Linked DNA regions of Homo sapiens: all the other regions are linked to region 1. Evidence: promoter capture Hi-C in human tissues and cell types (Jung and others, 2019). All regions are on one chromosome and are shown on one strand. The core of a region is centred on a gene start or on the middle of the fragment in contact, and the rest is flanking DNA. Distances in the headings are between cores, read along the strand shown.

The links. Contacts are between HindIII fragments. The study calls those that stand out against the background at their distance.
Region 2: a fragment that was not itself captured here is called in contact with the fragment with the promoter of NENF in region 1 in 2 of the 25 tissues and cell types used here (lymphoblastoid cells and spleen).
Region 3: a contact is called between a fragment that was not itself captured here and the fragment with the promoter of NENF in region 1, in 1 of the 25 tissues and cell types used here (hippocampus).

What each region holds. Positions count from the first base shown.
Region 1 is chr1:212,430,980-212,434,735 of GRCh38, reverse strand. It overlaps NENF (neudesin neurotrophic factor), which reads right to left and starts at 1,816. Exons shown (of 4, transcript NM_013349.5): 1 at 1,616-1,816. The coding sequence starts at 1,792. It overlaps LOC105372906 (a long non-coding RNA gene), which reads left to right and starts at 1,919. Exons shown (of 3, transcript XR_922577.4): 1 at 1,919-2,111; 2 at 2,892-2,995. RefSeq lists an enhancer at 1,221-1,310, a silencer at 1,471-2,030 and a cis regulatory region at 3,454-3,741. The HindIII fragment of the contact is 24,294 bases long and covers 1-3,137 here.
Region 2 is chr1:211,689,138-211,692,893 of GRCh38, reverse strand. No RefSeq gene overlaps it. Among named protein-coding and RNA genes, the nearest start is that of NEK2-DT, 15 kb to the right of the region's middle. The HindIII fragment of the contact is 4,257 bases long and covers 27-3,756 here.
Region 3 is chr1:211,745,983-211,749,738 of GRCh38, reverse strand. LPGAT1 (lysophosphatidylglycerol acyltransferase 1) reads left to right here. Exons shown (of 8, transcript NM_014873.3): 8 at 1-3,756. Among named protein-coding and RNA genes, the nearest start is that of NEK2-DT, 72 kb to the right of the region's middle. The HindIII fragment of the contact is 4,126 bases long and covers 1-3,756 here.

The DNA.
Region 1 (3,756 bases), core at 567-3,066:
CCCAAAGATCATCGGGTCAGTTGGAGAGTCCCTAGAAGGAAGATTCCAAGAACCCAGCATATAGTTCTACTCACAGCTGGGAAGGAAAAACACAGAGGGAGAATCTAGGGGAATCTATGTGCAGGTTTCCTATGCTCTCTCCCTCCCATGAGGAAGAGCACACTCTTCCCCCAGCAACAAAACTTGACAGTATGTGCCATTCTTCTGGCAGAACATTCCTCTGCTAGAGATGCCCATTAGACTCAGCACCCAAGGTTTTCACTGGGGGCTGGTCACATGGGGCACCCTCTGCCTAGCATATACAGTGTTCAATACTAACCACACCATCTGTATATACGGCCTAGGCAAGTGAGTCCACCGTTATTGGGTAGGGAAGGGTGAGAAATCCAGACACTAGACAAGTCCCACCCTTGCAAGTAGGCTTTTCTAAGGAGAGCAGGCCTGCCATGTTAATTCTTTTCTGCACGGATGCCTGGACTCTGAACCATCTGGTTCCCTCTGCTACCGGCAAAAAGGCATCCCTTAACATCCTCACATCCCAGCCATGTCTCCCTCCCTCGGTGTCCTCACTGACTCATGGTTCTAAATGGCCCCTTCACAAATGATGCCCAAACTGGCATCACTGACTAAGGGCCAGGTTTCTGATACCCCCATGCAATCCTAGTCCATATAAGGCCAATTAACTCAGGAATTAGCGAGACCAGGCCAGAGGGTTTTGAAAAACATCAGGCCTCTTCCTGCTCTACCACTAACAGGTGGCAGGCCTCAGTTTCCTTATGTGTAAAAGCAGGAGATGGGTTCCTGCCAGCTCTGAAATACTATGGTACTATGACCTCCCCCCAATGCCGTTCCCCCGCTCCACATCTAATATCAGCCCCCTGTTGGTCCTTGTCGTGCGGCTCCAGTCCCAACCAACCCAGGTGGGCAGGTGGTTGTGAGTTTTCTGGACGCCTCTAGACTATTGACGTGTGTGGGTGTGTGTGGGCGGGGGGGTCTCTATTGACGTGTGGCGGGGGGGTTGTGGGGGTCTCTAACCTCCAGTCCACCCTCTGCGCTCACTTCCAGCTTTGGCTGAGCCCCAGGGGTACATGACCTAAAAGTGGGTTTGAGGAGTCCGATGCAGAGGCCTGGGATACAGGGGCAGGAAAAGGAAGTGCAGGCAAAGACTGGCTTATCCCAGGACCTGTCTCAATTCCCACCTAACCCAGGGAGCAGGCTCTGCTTCCCTCCCTCCGTCCCCCGCCACTCCCCACTATGCGTGGGCACAGTAAACGCCTCGGCTGATGCTAACATGAAAACCAAAAAGTTCTGAGGTCTGTACGCAGATCATCAACGAAAAGGCGGCTAGAGGGGAAATCTCCCGGGGACCGAGGGAGAAGTTCAGGGTGGGGTGTGCGGGCAAAGCGGAGCGCTCCGACTGTTGAGGACTCGTCCTCACCCCTCGGCCATCCTTCGGGGCCTAGAGAGAGGAGGCCCCCCGCCGGCCCAGGGCGCCCGCCGCGGGCCGCGCGTCCCCCAGAGCTTCCTGGGCCGCCGGCGCCTCCTGGGTCCCCGCTCGGCTCGCCGCAGATCGGACGCCACCCCGGGTCCCTCGGCCCGCGACACCCCCGCCTACCTCCTCCCCGCCATAGCGGGCCAGCTCCTCCTCGGTGAAAAGCCGCACTGGGGGCCCCCGCTCGGCAGGGCGCGGTGTCTGCCCGGCCCGGGCTGTGGGCAGCCCCGGGGCCAGCGCCAGGACCAGGGCCAGCGCTGCCAGCGGCCGCAGCCGCCGCCGCGGCGCGGGGCCCACCATGGTGAGCGCGCAGCGCAAGGCAAGGCCGGGCCAGGGCGGCGGGGCCCTAGCACGCCCGCCCAGCGTCCCGGAGTCCCGCCCCGCGCCCAGAGCCTCCCCGAGGGCGGGGACCCGAGAACTCCCGCCCTTCGCGCGCCTCCTGCGCCCCGGGGTGGGGCTGGCCGGGCTACTCGGGCCACGCAGCTGGAACCTGGAAATTAGGATTGGAATCCTGAACTCCTAAATCCAAACTACAGACTGGAAGTTACCAAAAAATGTCACAGTGGTTCCTTGATCAGGTAGAAAGATGACAGAGCCCAACATACCAGAACCTAGAAAGGTATATTTCTAAAATAAGACCCCAACTGTCTTAATTCGCTTTTATTTTTGGCTGATTTTTTTTCTTCCTGGTTGTGTTTAAGTTTCTGGTTCCCAAGGAGATTTTTGCAAAGGGTAGGGTGCTGTTACCGATACGCCCTGAAATAATAATAGCTAACATTTGTGCCAAACTTTGCTCATTACTTTATGCAACAAATATTTTTGAGTACCTCCATGTACCAGGTCACTGGGGACTCACCACTGAACAAGACAGATCCACGCCCACGTGAAGCTTACATTGTGTGGGCAGATAGACAATAAGATGCTAAGTAGTATGTTAGATGGTGGTAAATACTAGGGAGAAAAAGTAGGGCAAAGAGATAGGGAGCACTGGGATGGACATTTTATTTTATTTTATTGTTATGTATTTATTTATTTTTGAGACGGAGTCTGTCGCCTACGCTGGAGTGCAGTGGCGCCATCTCGGCCCACTGCAACCTCCACCTTCCGGGTTCAAGTGATTCTCCTGCCTCAGCCACCAGAGTAGTTGGGATTACAGGCACCCACCACCACGCCTGGCTAATTTTTTTTTTTTTTAATTTTTAGTCGAGATGAGGTTTCACTATATGCTGGCCAGGCTGGTCTCGAACTCCTGGCCTCAAGTGAACCATCCACCTCATCCACCCAAAGTGCTGGGATTACAGGTGTGAGGAACGGTGCCCGGTTATGGGGATGGTCATTTTAAATAGGCAGGTTAGGGAAGGCCTCACTGAGAACAGGGTATTTGCATAAAAATCTACAGGAGGCGAAGGAGGCGGTCTAGAGGGAAGAGCACTTTGGTCAAAGGATCAGGTGCATAAATGCGGAGGAATGAGGATGCCCGGCTTGCTGGAGGATCAAGGGAAGGTAAGAGGGGTAGGTGAAGTCAGGAAGGAAGCGGGTAAGGGAGTGGGGGTGGATCTTGGGGGCTTCACAGGTTATTTTCAAGACTGGCTTTTACTTTCAAGACTGGAATAGAGGAATTAACAGAAAAAGGGTCTCATTCCAGACCCAAGAGCAGGTTCTTAGACGTCCACGGCAAAGAATCAGGGCAAGTCGCAGAGCATAGTAGTTAAAATAGTTCATTAGAAACTACTCCATTTCTAATAATAGTACTACTGTGTTTCTGAGTAGTATCCTTGCTTTGAAGTAGTACTAAGCAAGTATTGTTTATATAGGAGCACCTCTGCCTTCAATGTAATGCTTGCTTTTATAGGGCTAAAACTAGCGTACTTCATTACAAAAGCCTATGATCAGCTTGTTACAGACTATTAGTATTGTTATTCTCTTGTGTAACTATTGACTTCAGGGAGAATTTATGGGTGTACTGTTATCTTTAAAGTGAAACTCATTTTTAAACTAAGAATGCCTTTTTCCATTATCTCATTTCCTCAACCATAAACATCTTGTGAAGAGTGCCTATCTTCCTGGGAAAGTCGCCCAGCAGGTTTGGCTTTATCTGACCTTTATTCAAGATGGAATCACTCTGGTTAGGACACTTCTGACATAATTCCCTCCTCCTTTTTACAAGGAGACCTTTAATCCTAAGGGGTGCAGGGGGACAGAGATCCATCTTCAGTAACTTCAAGCTGAACAGAAGCGATGATATTCCTGCCTAACCATTAGGA
Region 2 (3,756 bases), core at 906-3,405, 740 kb after region 1:
TTGCAAAAACAAATTTCTTGTTTTTCCTGGAATTTCTGGTACTGGCACATTTAGTTCATCATAGAAAGGTTGAAACACTGGCTCAGGAGAGCGTTTGTAAACTTCTCCTCGAACCAAGATATTTACTCAAGGATGCAGTCCGGCCCCGTCGATTCCTAAGGTCACATGCTCGTCTTTTTTCCAGCGAGTATCAAGGGGATTGGTTATTACTAGCTCTAAGGGGTTACATTGCCCTTTAGTACAGGAAGGGCCATTTTTTCCTTTCTGAAGGTGGACTGGATCCTTTTCATTTTTTTTAAATCCAAGTGGCCTAAATGACACAAGACCAGTATTTACATTTATTTCTACACAGTCCTAATTTATGACAGATGTACTTATTTTCTGCCATATAGCCTCTTTTCTAATTAAGAGAACCACACCTTATTTCTAACATTACTATTAAAGACAGCACAGGCATCAAATTTTAAGGTGACTTCTTTGGGCACCCCTTTTTCTTCTGTTTTGGCTAACACGTTGCTCGTATTGTTTATAAGCCCCCACCAGTCCTCAGTCTTTAATCTTATTTTAAAAACTGTGGTCATGGGAGACTCAGATGGGTCATAACACACATCAGGTTTGTCATTTCCTGGGCTACATACCTTGTATAGAATAACATTATACCAACAAGTTCTTTTTAGAGTTCCAGTACACTTATAATAACCATAAAATAATAGGACCGTAGCAACCTTTTGTCCTACCTCAGTGACTTGATGCATACACTGGGAACAGCCCTCAGCCTGAGGAAGGTCAGTTGAAGTCCTTACTGTAAAAGTCCAAATTTTAAGGAAAATGAGTCCCGTGATGAGTTTTCTCATGCTTCGGCCGTGCGTGGACCAGTCAGCTTCCGGGTGTGACTGGAGCAGGGCTTGTCATCTTCTTCAGAGTCACTTTGCAGGGGTTGGCGAAGCTGCTCCCGTCCACGTACCGCTCACAGTCTACTGATGTTTAAGGATGGTCTCAGAGGTTGGTCCTGCTAGAGTCTAACTGAGTCTAACGCTTCTACACAGTTATGTTCAACTGGGCTCTCTGATACCGGGAGCAAGGTGGTGGGATTTAGGGTGTTGCAAACTTCAATGGTTATGTGGGGATTTTAAGCTTTGATACTTGGTTAATCTAGTATTTGTTAACCAATGATGTCCTTTGGTAGTCATTAAAGTTACCACAGCAAGGGGGCCTTTATATTCAGGTTTTGCCTAAGGGTTAGTTTATCTGCTTCTTGTGCTAACAGGGCTGTTGCTGCTAAGGCCCTTAGATCTGGGGGCTGGACTCTGGAAACCCTGTCTAGTTGTTTTGAGAGATAGGCCACTGGCCTTGGCCAGGGCCCCATAGTCTGGGTTAAAACTCCAACTGCCATTTTTTCTCTGACACATAGAGTTCAAAGAGTTTTGTCAGGTCAGGTAGCCCCAGGGCTGGGGCTGACATGAGTTTTTTTTAACTCATGAAAAGCTCATTGCTGTTGGTTGTAATAGATGTAGTTTATATAATCTACATTTTTATTAACTGTCACCTACTAAAATATTGACTCAAATCCTGCAGCTATTTGATTTCAAGCTTTAAATTGATCTGCTGTTCCTCGTGAGACTCCAATTGTGTCTAAATAGATATGAGAGTCGAAAGACCCATAGGAGGCTTCTCTCACTTTATGATGTCTTATTTTTTTTCCTTCTGGTTGATGAAATGCCAGGGTGAAAGGGATAGTCAACTGGACTAAAGTACAAGTGCCCCTCCAGTTATTCGGCAGAGTGCCCAGTAAAGGTCCACCACAATACCACCACACATCCACTCGGGGATGAACAAGGGCTGACTGATTGATAAGCTCTTGAAAATTCTTAAGCTCACTGCATCCCTTTAGGTCTCCAAGGAATGCTGTTTCCTCCCTGTCGTGAGAAACACGAAGTGAACTTAGTGTTGGGGGACGGAAGCTGGATGGCCCTTGGGGGCTGACCTGCAGGGTGCCTGACTTTGGGATATAGCAGAGAGAGCTTGGCATGACTTATTATTCCATGCTGTAGAATCCTGGAAAAGAGCTACCATGCAGCCCACACCTGGTCGACGGAGGACCACCTTAGTGGAAAGGGGACAGTCTGGGTCTCTGGCCTGCCATGTGCGCAAGCATAACAATTGCTTTTGTTTAACATGCAGATGGAATATTTGATCCATTTTAACCAGGCAGTTGCATCTTGGTATCCCGTCTTAATTGCTAAAGTTTGTTTTAAGTCTTTAACTGCTATGATCCTCTAGTAAAATGAATGTATGGTTTTAGGAAATTACAAAAACCGGTTGGGGCAGTCCATCCTTGTTCTGTAGTGGTCCACAGAACGTTGGTCCAACTATGACATGCAAGCTGCACATCAGGGGGCAAGACTCCTGGTTGGCACTGGGGTCTTTATCGAAATCTCCCGGGATTAAATGGTTCAGTTTACTAATTCCCAGTCTGAGGAGAGTCAGGAGGGACAGAAGTACTTTTCTGAAGAAGAAAGCTGTCTTTGACTTGGCAAGTCCCCACAGGGTATAACAAGGCAAGCATTAAATGCAATAGTTTGAGGCGAAATTGACTTGGTTATGTTAATAACTAGATGGTCAGCAATAGAACGAGGAAAGAAGAAAGAGTAATAGAATAGAGGAAAAGAGTTAAATTTTTCTTAGCTTTTGTTTGGTAGGGTTTTCCCCTGGGACTATGGCCCATGACTCTGGAGGAGGTGGCACTTTCTTGACTCGGGTGTGATGAGTCCATCCTTTTTTTTTTTTTTTTTTTTTTTTTCTGTACAAACAGCAGTCTTGGTGGTTAGCAGCACAAGGTGGGGTCCTTCCTAGGTTGGCTCGAGTTTTTCTTCTTTCCACCGTTTGATGAGAACGTGATCTTCAGGCTGGTGCTGGTTTACCAGAAATTCTAGGGGTGGTACATGTGCTAAAAGACTTTTAGTTTTTGAGAGAAAGGAAAGTGGAAGATAAACCAAGTATATAATTTTTAAGAAACTGACCTTTTGTTTTATATGTGGGGACCTTGGCAGTGGACTTTATAGTCCTTAGTGCCTTTTAACTGAGAAATTTCCTTTAGCATCTATTTTTATTAGTTTTTAAAACAAAGAAAGCCAAATACCATTTTACATTTAACAATGCTTCTCATATGATTTTTATACCAGATAAGCTAAATTTTATCTTTATATTAGTGTGTTAGTAATGTTAAACCTAATTTTAATAAAACCTTGTAGACATATTTATCTAATTTTTAATGTTTGACCATAAGGTAAGATTTTATAGACTCTTTTTAACCTTTTATAATTTTTGTGAAAGAGCAGGTTGGTGCTTTAAGAAAAACCTGTTATGCTTTTACTTTAATGTCCAGTTCACAGAAAAACTGGATGATACTTCTTTAACTTTAGCTAATATGTTTACACACAGAATTTTCTTTACAATTAACGTTTTAAAACTTGCTTAAATCTTCAAAACAATAATTTTTTAAAAACTTTTTAATGTAGGTAAAAATGTGCATTCTTATGCCTCCTTATAATCCTTTTACTAAAGGTATATTTTACTTTTCTGATACACCTTGCACATAAACTGTTTTTTTAAAATAGTTTTACATTCAGGAGGCCTAGTTACTTTTAAATTATACAACATTATTTGCATAAATTCTTTTTTATAACATTTTTCTCTTTCATGACTTTTGCAGACAATTCTTCGACATGCCTCAACTTTCTGACTTATTACAAATAT
Region 3 (3,756 bases), core at 531-3,030, 680 kb after region 1:
CTAAAATGAGGATTAGTAATATAATGACCTGCTAATATATTTTAAGAACATGTTTTAAAAAGATACACTCTATCACATATTTAAGCAAACATCACATTTGGAGAAGAGGAAATCATAAAATCATCCTAGAAGACTATCTGAGAGAAATTCTGTTGCCACCAGTTATACTTGACAATTTAGTTGAAGCTCAGAAAGTTATATTCATCCCTCTTAGCTGTAGTCTATATTAGGGCAGTTCTCTAGAACGCCCACATTTCCACCAACTCAGTAAACTTGAGGGGAGCTGGTTGGCACCTCGTGAAGAACTCTTTCCCTGTCGTTTGCAGTAACAAACTCCAGTCTGTTGCAGTAACAAACTCCAGTCTGTTGCAGTAACAAACTCTAGAATATTGACATTCTCTGTGGGGGAAAAGCAGTGTCCACTGGACCCCTTCTGGTACTGGATGTGTTCTTTACAAAGGCTAGCTCAGTCCAACACTGTGTTTACATACACTCGTGCTTTTCCTTATCTGACTTCTCATTTTGTATCAGAGGCATATCATAAATTGATAATTTTGCAAAATGCACTTTTTTGAGATGCAGATATAGCAAAGGATTAGTAATATAGCCTGAAAACAAATGGGAGCATAGCAGTGTGTGAGGTTCTCGAGAACTGTCTTGTCTCTGTGTGTTTATTTGCCTGCCAGTGCTCTCCAGCGCCATCCTGCCCTGGACACCACCCTGACGTGATGCCTCTATTGCAGCTCAGAGGCTTTATTTTTTCCATTTTGACATTGGCACTAAATGCATTTGGGGATGGTTAAAACAAATTACTATAGAACATTTAAATGATCAGTTTAAGGGGAAATAGGCTAGTTTATAGAAAAATAAGAGCTAGTGGCTTATAATGGTGACAGGTTCTCATGTGGCACCCCTAGGACCTGTGCAGACAGTAGTCTGTTGAATCATTACATCAAGGAGCTGCCCCTGTCAGGGTGAGTGTAATTAGGAACGATACCAGCACATAAGGCTCCCCCCAATCTCTTCCAGTTGCTTTTTCTTTTTTCTTTTTTTTTTAGACAGGTCTTACTCTGTCACCCAGGCTGTAGTGCAGTGGCATAATCTCAGCTCACTGCAGTCTCTGCCTCCCGGGTTCGAGCGATTCTCCTGCCTCAGCCTCCCGAGTAGCTGGGACTACAGGCACCCACCATCATGCTTGGCTAATTTTTGTATTTTTAGTAGAGATGGGGTTTCACCATGTTGGCCAGGCTGGCCTCGAACTCCTGACCTCAGGTGATCTGCCCACCTCGGCTTCCTAAAGTGCTGGGATTGCAGGCGTGAGCCACCACGCCCGGCCTCCAGTTGCTTTTGAAGAGGGTAAAGTCAAGTTTCTATTTCTAGAAAACATTTTTTAGAAATTTGTTGCGATGTTTGTACAATTTACCTCATAAGAGAACCACACCCTTCTCCAAAAGTGCTGGTACTGCATCAGTGAGATGAGTAGGGTTTTTGTTTGGGATTGTAAGACTATTAAGATCCTAGTAAGTCAGTGGTAGTTTACTGTGATGTGAGCATTGTAGATTCCCCCGTTGTCACTAATCACACAACAATTTTGAGAAGTAGGCTATAAAACAAAAAAAGGTTGCTGTTTTCTATTTTTAAATAAACCAAAAAAAAACAGAAAAGATGTGAATTTTCCCCAGTTATGTGGGAAAGGTAAAGCAACACCAAATAAAAGCCCACAGCAGCTTCATCTTTACGATAACTCAGTGCATATGTGAAAGAGAATGATGCATTAACTGAAATACCTCATTGAATATTATACTACTACTGGTAAAATGCAGAAGACAGTGTTAATGTGTTTGGTTTGGGGACTGGTTGTTATAAAATGCAATTTTTTTTTAAATCTAAGCATTTCATTATGTGTTCTACAGTGTCGGTGAATAAATGAAACCAATCTCAATTTAGAGGTATGGATGATGACAGAAAGCCCAATAGAAGCTTAATGATGCTTCTGTTTGAGGCCCAGCAAGCACCACTAAATTACTGGATGAAATGAAATTGTTCACTTGAGGGATTAGTCAACCATCTGGGGGAGAAGTTGCTCACTGTCAAATACAGCATGCACGGTCCTAGCTGATAGACCTTTTCCTCATTGCTACAGCAAGCCACAGGGTAGAGTGACCAGTTCTCCTATCCAAAAATAAATGCGAACATGCATACATAAATGTGGCTGAGGGCCACTTTTGCCATCACTGTGCTCCAAAGGAACATGATATTGTTAAATATACTGTACACATTAAACTATTCTATAAGATGCTTTACTTTTCAAGTACGGTGTCATTTTCACAGTCTCCAGGGTGACAAATGCCAATAGATATGTGAGTTAATTTTTTTAAATATCTCCGTGAGTTGTAAATAGATGTGTATTTGATCTGCCCTATCCTTCTTTGATTCTTTAACATGTTCTCTCTCTTCTGTTTGCAAAATATGTTTGAAAGCATTGGTAGTGCTTTCCTTATCAGTAACTGGAGTTCTCCTGCTTGCACTAGAGAAGGTAAAGAGAGAATCAGTATTCTTATATGGCAATCTGGGGAAGCAGCAATATGCCACTGTACAAAACTGAAGAAAAGTTCCTAATTTGTACTTTGTGAAGGGAGATGAAAGGACGTTTAAAGTATATATATTTTGTCAAGAGGAAAGAAGATAAAACTATGCCAGTTTTATATCAATAGCTTGTAGAAGCTCAGCTCTTCTTGGTCTTGGCTAGACTGCCTAGATTCCCACAGCAGACAAGGTTGAGAATCCATTGCTGGAATCTTGGTATTGATGAGTTACAGTGATGGAACATGTGCTTGGCCACAGGCAGGTCCAGTCACTGCAAAAGTGACCAAGCCAGCAGGTCACCCTTAACTTCAGAAACAATTATTGGTGGTGAACTGTACTTAAATTGCAGAGAAACCTGTAAGTAATGGAAGGTAAAGAAAAATTACAGAATGGAAAATAATATTTTGGGCAAGCAAACAAATTCACTGAGAATTCCAAAAGTATATTAAAAAAGAAGATAGCTATGAGTTCAGATCTATCTTATTGGTCTTTAATATTACAACCAATCCTTAACTTTCCACTATAAAGGAAGGATTACTAGATTGATTACTTTCTGGATAGATAATCTGGTAATAAATGATAGGTAAATCAAAAATTACTTTTATTTAGGAGTTTGAATTCTTACTCTCATCAGACATTTTTTTTCTAGGGACGCTTACTAATTAAATGATTTAAGTTGTTTCTTAGGGGTTTTTTGCCTATATATTTATGACTGTGTTAATGAGTAGTGAAATGATGCGGAAAGACAGCTATCAGGAAGAGGAAATACAGAAGCCTGAATAATCTATGGGTTAGAAAAGCATCCCTGAATAATCAAAAATTGGCAGTATTGGCATTGTTCTCAAGCCTTTTTATGAAAATGAAATCTGAAATCACCAAATGTAAACCTGGGAACATTATTCTAGTGTTGCTGTCTTGGATTCATGTTAAGAAGCGTCTTCATTCTTTGCTCATGTTGCCCACTTCTTGTGGATTTGTCTGAGTGTTTTTTGACAATCACTTCCTTAAAGACTCTTCTGAACTAGTTGGACCTGGTTAATCATAGAGAGTAGCCTTTAATCATGGATAGTCTTCTTGGATTATTTTTATATTTGAAAAGAAAATGTTTTATTTGCACTACTGAGTAGGAAGAGTTAATTGTTTTCTTTGTTCTTTTTTTGAAGTCATTAC